Regions from separate parts of the Homo sapiens genome. Here region 1 is linked to region 2. Evidence: promoter capture Hi-C in human tissues and cell types (Jung and others, 2019). All regions are on one chromosome and are shown on one strand. Each heading gives the region's core, a stretch centred on a gene start or on the middle of the fragment in contact. The rest is flanking DNA. Distances are from core to core; before and after follow the strand shown. Region 1 overlaps UBXN2B (UBX domain protein 2B). Region 2 holds the start of CYP7A1 (cytochrome P450 family 7 subfamily A member 1).

The links. Contacts are between HindIII fragments. The study calls those that stand out against the background at their distance.
Region 1: a fragment that was not itself captured here is called in contact with the fragment with the promoter of CYP7A1 in region 2 in 1 of the 25 tissues and cell types used here (dorsolateral prefrontal cortex).

What each region holds. Positions count from the first base shown.
Region 1 is chr8:58,444,936-58,450,158 of GRCh38, forward strand. UBXN2B (UBX domain protein 2B) reads left to right here. Exons shown (of 8, transcript NM_001077619.2): 7 at 972-1,133; 8 at 2,454-5,223. The coding sequence ends at 2,616. Among named protein-coding and RNA genes, the nearest start is that of UBXN2B, 36 kb to the left of the region's middle. The HindIII fragment of the contact is 4,222 bases long and covers 145-4,366 here.
Region 2 is chr8:58,497,675-58,503,027 of GRCh38, forward strand. CYP7A1 (cytochrome P450 family 7 subfamily A member 1) reads right to left here and starts at 2,489. Exons shown (of 6, transcript NM_000780.4): 1 at 2,345-2,489; 2 at 555-795. The coding sequence starts at 2,424. RefSeq lists a silencer at 781-2,367, a promoter at 2,465-4,367 and an enhancer at 2,699-2,920. The HindIII fragment of the contact is 11,138 bases long and covers 1-5,353 here.

The DNA.
Region 1 (5,223 bases), core at 1,006-3,505, 53 kb before region 2:
GACTAAAGCCCAAATGCTCATAGAACTTTTATACTAGTAATATGTAGATACATGCGTGTCTTTCTTCCAGAAGAAAATAATCTATAGGAAACCATCTAAATCTCAGAGTTCAAGAGAAAAAACTTCAAGACTATCAAAAATTCCTTAAGATGACTGAGAAAATTGAGCTAAATTTATTTGAATTATTTAACCAAAAGAGCACTCCTCTATTTTTGACATTCACTTTTGGCATATACTGGCTGATCATCCTGCTAGTGTTAGAAGGGGCTAAGACAGCAATGCCAGGGTCACTAGTAACCAAGTTCTAATGGTAAGATATTCTATCAAGCTTCATTATGAATTTATTGTCATGTAATAACATTTTATTCCTCAATGGTACTTAGAAGTTATTTCTCTTTTGCAAAGCAGTGCTTGAATCAGATGTGTTTAAATGATATTAACCAAGTCCAAATTAAATGAATTTAGTGCTGATAATATGTTCACAATAGCTGGCACCCGTTGAAACACTGTGTTCTAGGCACAATATTAAGGACTTACTGGTATAATATACCTTCATAACATAGTATTATTCCCTCACTTTATAAATGATAGAACTGGGATTCAAAATGATTGATGTACTTACTCAACTTTACACAGTTGACATGGCTGGGATGTGAAACCATGTCTGTCTGTGCTCTTAATGATTCTTTGACCCTAACTCAGAGTTGCTCGTATTTCTAAATAAAACTGGTTTGCTAAACAGTGATGAAGTTGCAAACAGTTAAATGAGGAAAGGATGCAAAGTTAGGCTTTTATGAGAGATTAGATAAACCAAATAAGAATCGTAGGATCCAAAATAACTTTAATATAATGAAAGAGGTTGAAAGAAGTATAGGAGACTCAAATGAAGCCATGTTCTAAGTGTTTATCGCTGTCTTCAGTTTGTCATATATTTTACACATTCAGATTTGTGTTTAATTCCTCTTTTTTAGCCTTACACCTGAAATAGTCAGTACACCTTCCTCTCCAGAAGAGGAGGATAAATCAATACTTAATGCAGTTGTTCTTATTGATGATTCAGTGCCAACAACAAAAATTCAAATCAGGTTAGCAGATGGGAGTCGTTTGATACAAAGATTCAATAGTACACACAGGTAAGCTTCTTTACCAACAGTGTCCTGTTTGCTGTTATATACACTGGATTGCTTATCTAAGTAGAACTGTATGTGACTTGAGTAATGAAGAATATGATATTCTTTAGGTTTACTTTTGAAGTAAGTTTTTGACAGAAGAAACATTTTTAAAAGGACAATAGCTGTGTTTAAGAAATGAAATATGTGGTATTTAAACAGTCTCTATAAACTATCCAAATACTAATGTGATCTCAGATATCACACAAAAATAAATTAAGAACTATAGTTTTACGTTGTTACTAAAACTATATGAAGTCGAATCAGATTTAATTTAACATAGTAAAACCTTTTGGGGACTTTATTCATTTAAAAATTTGTGATAATTTTGATTGGGATTAATTTTCTGTATAGCAAATACTTCATAATATAAATGTGTATTGTAAATCAAGTTTAATTGTACTTTTGTCAAGAACTTCAGATAGTTTTAAATGTTTCTTTAATATTGACTTGTACATCAACATTTGATTTGTCCATTGAAGTAAGACCCTAATAGATATATTTATGATTTTGGTTGAATTACTATGTTTATGTGAGAGTAATTTTTTAAAATTATTCCTATGATAGCACATTTCATAGTTTTAGACTCACCTTGCCACAGGCCAATCATAGTTACCTTTTTCTGGGTCATATGCTGCTAACACATTTTATACTCCGAAAAAAGTACAACCTGCATTTTTTTTTTTTTTTTTTTTTTTTTTTTTTTTTTTTGAGACAGAGTCTTACTCTGTCTCCCAGGCTGGAGTGCAGTGGCGGAATCTCAGCCCACTACAAACTCCGCCTTCCAGATTCAAGCAATTCTCATGCTCAGCCTCTTGAGTAGCTGGGATTACAGACAGCCACCACCATGCCCAGCTAATTTTTTCTGGTTTTAGTAGAGACGGGGTTTTCACCGTGTTAGCCAGGCTAATCTTGAACTCCTGGCCTCAAGTGATCTGCCCACCTCTGCCTCCCAAAGTGCTGGAATTACAGGCGTAAGCCACCGTGCCCAGCTGGACCTGCACTTTTAAAATAACAACATTAGTACACTTACTTTATTCATAACTTACCTGAAGATTGTTTCCATTTTACAGGAAAAGTAAATGTTAAGTACACACTAAAGTTACTTTACATTTTAACTGAAGCCTAAGATAAATCCTTCAATTGAAATACTATATATTAAAGAAAGTTACAACACCTTTATATAAAGATTAAAATTTTGTGATTTTTATTATGATTCAGTTTTAAGTTTACATGAAAATATGATTTTTTATATTACAAATTATTTTTGTCTTATTTCTTCAGGATCCTGGATGTCCGGAACTTTATTGTACAGTCTCGTCCTGAATTTGCGGCTCTTGACTTTATTCTTGTGACTTCATTTCCGAATAAAGAGCTAACAGATGAAAGCCTGACACTGCTAGAAGCAGATATTCTTAACACTGTGTTACTCCAGCAACTAAAATAATATTGTTCCTGTCCATGCAGTAGCATGTGGGAATAGATGATGTGCCGTATTAATAAGGACAATACTTCAGCATTAAAAACAGCCAAATTATTTTTATTATTTTTACAGATAAATTTTGGTTTTATTGTTATTCTGTCTTCCAATCTGAATATAGACAAATTTGGATTAGGAATAGACCTTGAGATAAGTATGTTTGAGTTTTTAGTTGAAGGACTGGCTTATGTTGATAGTTTTTGGATTTCTAGGCAAATGAGTTGTTACATGCTTAGTGTTAATGTAACAACATTTGTTTGCAGAGAAAAATGAACAAAACCCCTTTTTGATAAATGCATTTGGTAAAATTTGCACTAAAGTTTCTTGATGCAGCATTGACCAACAGCCATTAAGAAATCTTTTGATCAAATAAGTTGAAAATTTGTCTATAATATATACTGAAACGTGTCTTTTGATTTTGAAATTGTTTGATCATACAATAATTATTTCTCCTATTAAGATTTTACACATCCTTTTTACTTACTGATTTAGATATATTACTAGTATCAGAAACTACAGTTTTGCCTTGTATTTTACAGAATTATGACTGTTGTGAACTTAAACAGAAACACATAAAGGTCAGCAATTCTTTTTTTTTTTTTTTTTGATATGGAGTTTTGCTCTTGTTGCCCAGGCTGGAGTGCAATGGCATAATTTCTGCTCACCGCAACCTCCGCCTCCCAGGTTCAAAAGATTCTCCTGCCTTAGCCTCCCAAGTAGCTGGGATTACAGGCATGCGCCACCATGCCTGGCTAATTTTTGTACTTTTGCTAGAGACAGCGTTTCTCTGTGTTGATCAGGCTGGTCTCGAACTCCGAACCTCAGGTGATCCACCCACCTCAGCCTCCCAAAGTGCTGGGATTACAGGCATGAGCCACCACGCCCAGCCTAAAGGTCAGCAGTTCTTAAGAAGATATGGTAAACAGCAACAATATTTTAAAATCAAGTAATTACAGTTCCTCCCAGAGCTTGCGTTGATCACATTCATTTATTCATTCAACACATTTTTCTAGGAAACTCACTGTATACACTAAACACTATTCTGTGTGCTCAACCTAGAATGTCTTCTCCAGAACAAGACTAGTGTAGAAATACAGGAATGTAAATTCTGTCAGACGGACTAGATCTAAAGAATTACCAGCATAAATGTTTGCATTTCTGCTGAAGCCAGAAGCTTTTCCTTCTTCCTAGACACCATTTCATCCTTAATTATTACTTCTGGTTAGTTTTCCATTGCCACCATAACAAGTTACAAAATGTGGCTTAAAATAGCACAAATTTATTATCTTCACAATTCTGTAGGTTAGGAGTCCAGGTTAAGAGTTTCGCGGTGCCAAGATCAATTTGTTGGCAGGGTTGCATTCTGTTAGGAGGCTCTACAGGAGAATCATTTCCTTGTCATTCCACCTTCTACAGGACATCCTCATTCCTTGGCTTGTGACCTCCTTCTTCCATCTTAAAAACCAGTGCTGTTTCATCTCTATGACCCTTCTGTTACCACATCTCTCTGACACCAGTGTGGAGAGGTTCTCTGCAGGACTCATGATTAAATGAGGCCCACCGGATATCCAATCTAGGCTTATCTCCTTGTCTTGAAATCCATAGTAACCTTAATTACATCTGCAAAATCTCTTTTACCATCTAAGGTTACATACAGGTTTGGAGATTAGGACATTAACATTTTACATGGAACATTATTCTTGCCTACTACAGTTCCCACCCACCCCCCGCTCCACTCCTGTGTTAAAGATTCAGATTCATCACAAATAAATTTACATCACTCATAGGTGCTCAAAAGTCACAATCCATTATTACAGCATCAACTCTAAATCCAAAATCTTATCTGAGTCTCACCAACTCAAAAGTCTCAAATCTCACATTGAAGCCATCTAAATTAAGTTTGGGAGAGGATCTGTGTGTGATTTCTGGGACATAATTCCAACTGTGCACTTGTGAACCTAGAAAACAAGTTATCTGTTCCCAAGTATGATGGCATGACAGGCAGACAATAATAGTTACACACGTTCCTGTTCAAAAAGCAGAAACAGATGGAAAAAGGAGCCATCAGCACCAATCAATTTACAAAACCAGCGAGGCACCCTTCTTTAAGTTTCAAGGCCTGGGAGTAATCTTCAGCTCACTGCTGTTCTCTGGGCTTGTTGACTGTCTCAGAGTCATCTTTACTTTTTCACAAAAGGTAGCACACGTTTGCAGCTGAGTATCAACTTATCAGTTTGTTCTTCTTTTATATTCTCTAAAGCTTTCTGTTAAAAATGGTGGTGCTTCTGCTGCTATAACGTTGTCAAGAAACTTGTGGGTCTTTTACATATGTCACAGGGATGCACTCATTTAGATAGGAGGCTCCTCACGTATCTTTCCTGGAAAATCCTGTCTCTGTTTTTGGCTTTTTCTGAAATAGCTGAGAGGATCTATGATTCACACCCTTAATATCTTCAAAGAGTCTTGTGTGTGACCTGATATTCAGACCTTTTGATGTTTCTGAAGTATTAGCAAAAGGTTATACAGCCATATCTTCATCACTTTCTCTAGAGTAAAGGCTGTCCTGACGGTGAA
Region 2 (5,353 bases), core at 1,239-3,738:
TCCAGCTGTAGATGTATTTTAACCAAACTTTAAGCTACTTAGTCACAAAGACCAAAGCTAATATTTATTTGCAGTAAGTAAGTAGTTATTGGTTTTTTTTCTCAGTAACAGATCTTCTTTTATTACATCTAAATGATGTTAAAATATCTTGCCAATTCCTTATCAAAATGAAACACTGTGTGGCACAAGTGTGGTGAGACAACTGCTGAATGTTAGGTTTCCGTCACTTGCATTCTTGCATAGACATTGCTGATGTGATGAATTTTTATCTATCTTATTCGTACAGTGCCACCTGTCTCAGTAGAGCATTTAATCTGTATTTCACCCTCATTAGCTCGTCAACAAATGACAAATCTATACCTATTTTGACTTTCTAAATGATTATTACTAAGAAGCTACGTATAATTTATTTATGTTTCTAAGAATCTCCACATAAGGATAACTCTCTTCAACACCTTTATCATAAAATCTAAGTACATCAAAATTTCTAAATAGACAAGCACATAAAAAGGTAGAAGACAAACAGAATGGTATATAAATGTAAAACTGCTTACCTTCGCAGAAGTAGCAAAGTGAAATTTTTTCCAATCAAAATATTTTCCGTGGCACAACACCTTATGGTATGACAAGGGATTTGTGATGAAATGGACATATTTTCCCATTAGTTTGCAGGTAAAAACATGACCATGTTTCCTTTGATTTGCTCTGAGGAACTCAAGAGGATTGGCACCAAATTGCAGAGCACAGCCCAGGTATGGAATTAATCCATTCTCTAGAGGTGGTTCACCCGTTTGCCTGTCAGACACAAGTGTATGATAGACATGGATGATTACAGTTTTGGGTTTTTACTTACATCAGGTTTTAAAATTTTTCCCACTGACTTCAAACTTTGAAACCCTATAGTTTATAGATATTTCTTTTGTTGGATGGGCCCTGCTCTTTTACTACAGTAATAGGTTATATTAACCTAGTAACATGATATGTTGGTGGAAAGGATTACTAAATCCATCCATTCATGCATCCGTCCATATACACATTCAACAAGCACCCGTCTACTATGTGCTCATCACTTTTCCCAGTGATACAGGCAAAAGGATTTACAAGACCAACAAGATTCTTGTTGTCAGTGCGGAAACAAAACTACATTCTAGTGTTTATCACTTTGCTAAGCATCATTTTTCTAAATATCTCAAAATGTTTCTTTTGATTATTTTCTTTAAAGACACAGATCACTGAATAAGGGAGGATTTCAGAACTGAGGTTTTGAAAATATTCCTAGTTTAAAGATATCTATATTATATTCTATAAGGATGGTTTCAGAGAAGAAGAATCTCATGTGAGAAATCAGCTTATTATAAAATGAAATTGAGTAAGATAAACACTGACGGAATCATCTATTGTAATTCAGTGCTCCTTTAAAATGTTTTTATTAGAACATGTAAACTTATTTTCCAACATAAACTTCTGTACCTCTTGATAGAATAATACAGTATAAAGTAATTACCTTTCTTTTCTTAGTTTGAAGATAAGTAGTTTAATTAAAAGTAAAAACTATCAGGCCTGAAAGAAACTGCAAAAGGCAGAAAACACATAGCAATCTACAAAGCTGAAAGATGGTTAGGGTTATTTTCTCTTTTTGAGATTGACATAGCAGAGAATATCTATATGCCTCCCCACAATTACTCCTTGAGCCAATTAGAAGTTAAATAAACTATGGTTCTGGATCTGACTGTATTTGTTTTTCTTGCATTCTTGAACCAGTTGTAAATAAATGAAATCGATGTCACATACACTCAGCAAACTTTCCCAATTCACCACAGTTGATTAACATTTATTTAAAAACAGTAATAGAATGATCAGCTCAGGCTCTATGCTCTTGTTCAGGCTTAGGCTGAGTCTATGCGATGCACAAGAATGAGCTTAAAAGAGAACATTTATTTAACAAGAGTATCTATTGAAGCCATGTGAGAGAAAGCAATCCTTTCCATTGTAGATTCCCACTTGCTACTTGTATCCTTACTAATCTGGGCTTCCTCTTTAGATACACATATAAATGTACATAGAGACCTTATACAATTTCTGTCAGTTATGTTTAACACCAATATACATTTATATATTACCATCGGTATATGCCAATACTAAAAAGGGAAGCTGTCATATGTCTTGTGAGATATAGTAAAAAAGATATTACTTTAAAAATTCAAATCAAATTTTTCATTTAAAAAATAAGGAAGATAATGCTAATATGTGTAAGTATAGAAAACCAAATTTACTGTATAAAAATGAAGGTAAAAAAATTAAATGGATGAATCAAAGAGCAATTTAAAGATAAAACATTACTTACCTTCTCCTAATTCCAAGAATAAGCCATAGACAACAGCATGCTGCTATAGCAATCCCCCAAATCAAAGATGTGGTCATCATTTTGCAAATCTAGGCCAAAATCTCTGAGGAAGAAAATCTCTGATTAGAAAGGGAAGGATGCCACTGAAAAGAGACTCAAGCTAGGCTTTTTATATACATAGTATCCAGATCCATTAACTTGAGCTTGGTTGACAAAGCAAACAATTAGCCATTTGTTCATTCTATTAGAAAAAAAAAAGTGGTAGTAACTGGCCTTGAACTAAGTCCACAGGTATCAGAAGTGGTTCCAAAGCAATCAGAGACCTGCAATACTTGATAAGTTGAAGGTCTCTCAAATATATGTTGACTTAACATTCGGACCTGGGGACAACAGCTAATATTAAGAGTTTGGTATGTGTAAAAAGAACAAATAAACCTGTTTAAGATGGGCATAGCTAATAAATACATAAACTATAATCATTTAAAGAAAGATAAGAATGAGTTATTCATCAAGCTTATAATTTGGTCTTGTTAACTTTTAAAGAAGAATTAATTTAGGTGCTTTGCCAGAGAGACGGTGATCAAGTTCAGAGGAAAGAGAACTGGGAAAAACATTTCTGCTGCTTCATGTTTCAGTGCTTTTATAAAATCATAGATATTTTACTACATATAGTAACATGTTACTCACCTAACATCCTCAAGAGAGTATTCTACATAAGTGCATCCTCTAGATAAATATAACTTATTGGAAGCATCAAAATTTTATCTATCATTCTTGTGACTAAAATGTTTATCAATGTTTCTAATTATTAAAGTAATAAATTTCATTTCAAGTAAGTTAAGACTAACTAAAACATATCTTGGTGGAAAGTGAACATCTATTAATAATTTACCTACCATGCTACTCCTTTACTCAGAAGTAACCACTAGTAACAATTTGGCATCTGTTCTTCCAAACTTTATTTCTGTGTACACAAAAATATTAGTTGAGTATTTATTACGTGCCAAGAACTCTTCAAAAGTATTCCAGTTGCAGGCATTAATAAGATAGGCAGATTTCCTAATCTAATGGAGATTCTATTCCAATGGAGAAAGGAGTAATAAAATACATGTTATGAAAAAAATAAAACATGGTATAGAAAGCTATGGGGGAATGAGGACAACTTTAGATATGATGATCAGAGATGGGCTCTCTGAAATTGTGACATTTGAGATCTGAATGACAAGAAGAGACTACTCATGTGAATATCAGAAGGAAGGATATTCCAGGAAGAGGAAGCAGCAAATGCAATGTCTTGAGTCAAGGATCAACTTGGTGAGTCTAAGAACCAAAAAGAAGGATGTATCCTACTGAAGCAGAGTGAATGAGAGTTCACAGAATTAAGACAAAAGAAGGTAGGCAACAGTACTGTGTGTGTATATATATGTATATAAACACACACACACATACACCCACAGTATTCTCTATATTTATACATGTGTGTATCTATATGTGTGTATAAATAATTATATTGAATATGTGCTTAATCTTCCATTGGATAAATGTACTATAATTTATTTAACTGATTTCCTATTGATGGATATGTGGGTTGTTTCCAGTTTTGGCTATAGATGCCATAGATTTATTTCATGTGTTTTTTGTTTTTGCCTGTTTAAACAGAGATCACACATTTTTTGTGTGTAATTTATCACCATAAATATTAATATCAATCATTGTATGGCAGTACATAGATTTTTCTTAGAATCTAGGTTTTTGGGGGGCTTTGTGCATTTATTTAGACAGGTGGATTTTTAAAAAATTAATATATCTTTTTAAAAATATGGCTTATAGAAAAGCTGATCTTATACATGGACAATCACAGCAAGATATCCCAGTCAGATAAAATGCCAATCTAATATCCAAATAATACAGCCCTTTAGAGTTACTTCTCGGGCAAATGAAGAACAAGCAAATATACAAAAATGGAAAGGAAGTCAGGCATGGTAGTGTGACATGGTTTGGCTGTGTCCCCATCCAAATCTCATCTTGAATTCTCACGTGTTGTGGGAGGAACCTGGTAGGAGGTGACTGAATTATGGGTGCAGTTCTTTCCTGTGCTATTGTCATGATAATGAATAAATTTCATGAGATCTGATGGTTTTAAAAAGAGGAGTTTCCCTGCACAAGCTCTTTTCTTGTCTGCTGCCATGTGAGATGTGCCTTTCTCCTTCCATCATGATTGTGAGGCCTCCCAAGTGATGTAGAATTGTAAGTCCAATAAACCTCTTTCTTTTGTAAATTGTCCAGTTTCAGGTATGTCTTTATCAGCAGCATGAAAATCGACTAATACAGTAAACTGGTACCAGTAGAGTGGGGCACGGCTGAAAAGATAACCAAAAATGTGGAAGCGACTTTGGAACTGGGTAACAGGTAGGGATTGGAACAGTTTGGAGGGCTCAGAAGAAGACAGGAGAATGTGAGCAAGTTTGGAACTCCCTAGAGGCCTGTTGAATGACTTTGACCAAAATGCTGATAATGATATGGACAACGAAATCTAGGCGGGGGTGGTTTCAGATGGAGATGAGGAACTTTTTGGGAACTAGAGCAAGGGTGACTCTTGTTATGTTTTAGTAAAGAGACTGGCAGCGTTTTGTCCCTGCCCTAGAGATTTGTGGAACTTGGAACCTAAGAGAGATGATTTAGGGTATCTGGCAGAAGAAATTTCTAAGCAGCAAAGCATTCAAGAAGCAACTTGGGTGTTGTTAAAGGCATTCAGTTTTTTTTGTTTTTTTTTTTTTTTTTGAGACAGAGTCTTACTCTGTTACCAGGGCTGGAGTGCAGTGGTGTGATCTCGACTCACTGCAACCTCCGCCTCCTGGATTCAAACGATTCTCCTGCCTCAGTCTCCCAAGTAGCTGGGATTAAAGGCACCCATGACTATGCCCAGCTAACTTTTTGTATTTTTAGTAGAGACAGGGTTTCACCATGTTGGCCAGGCTGGTCTCGAACTCCTGACCTCGTGATTCGCCC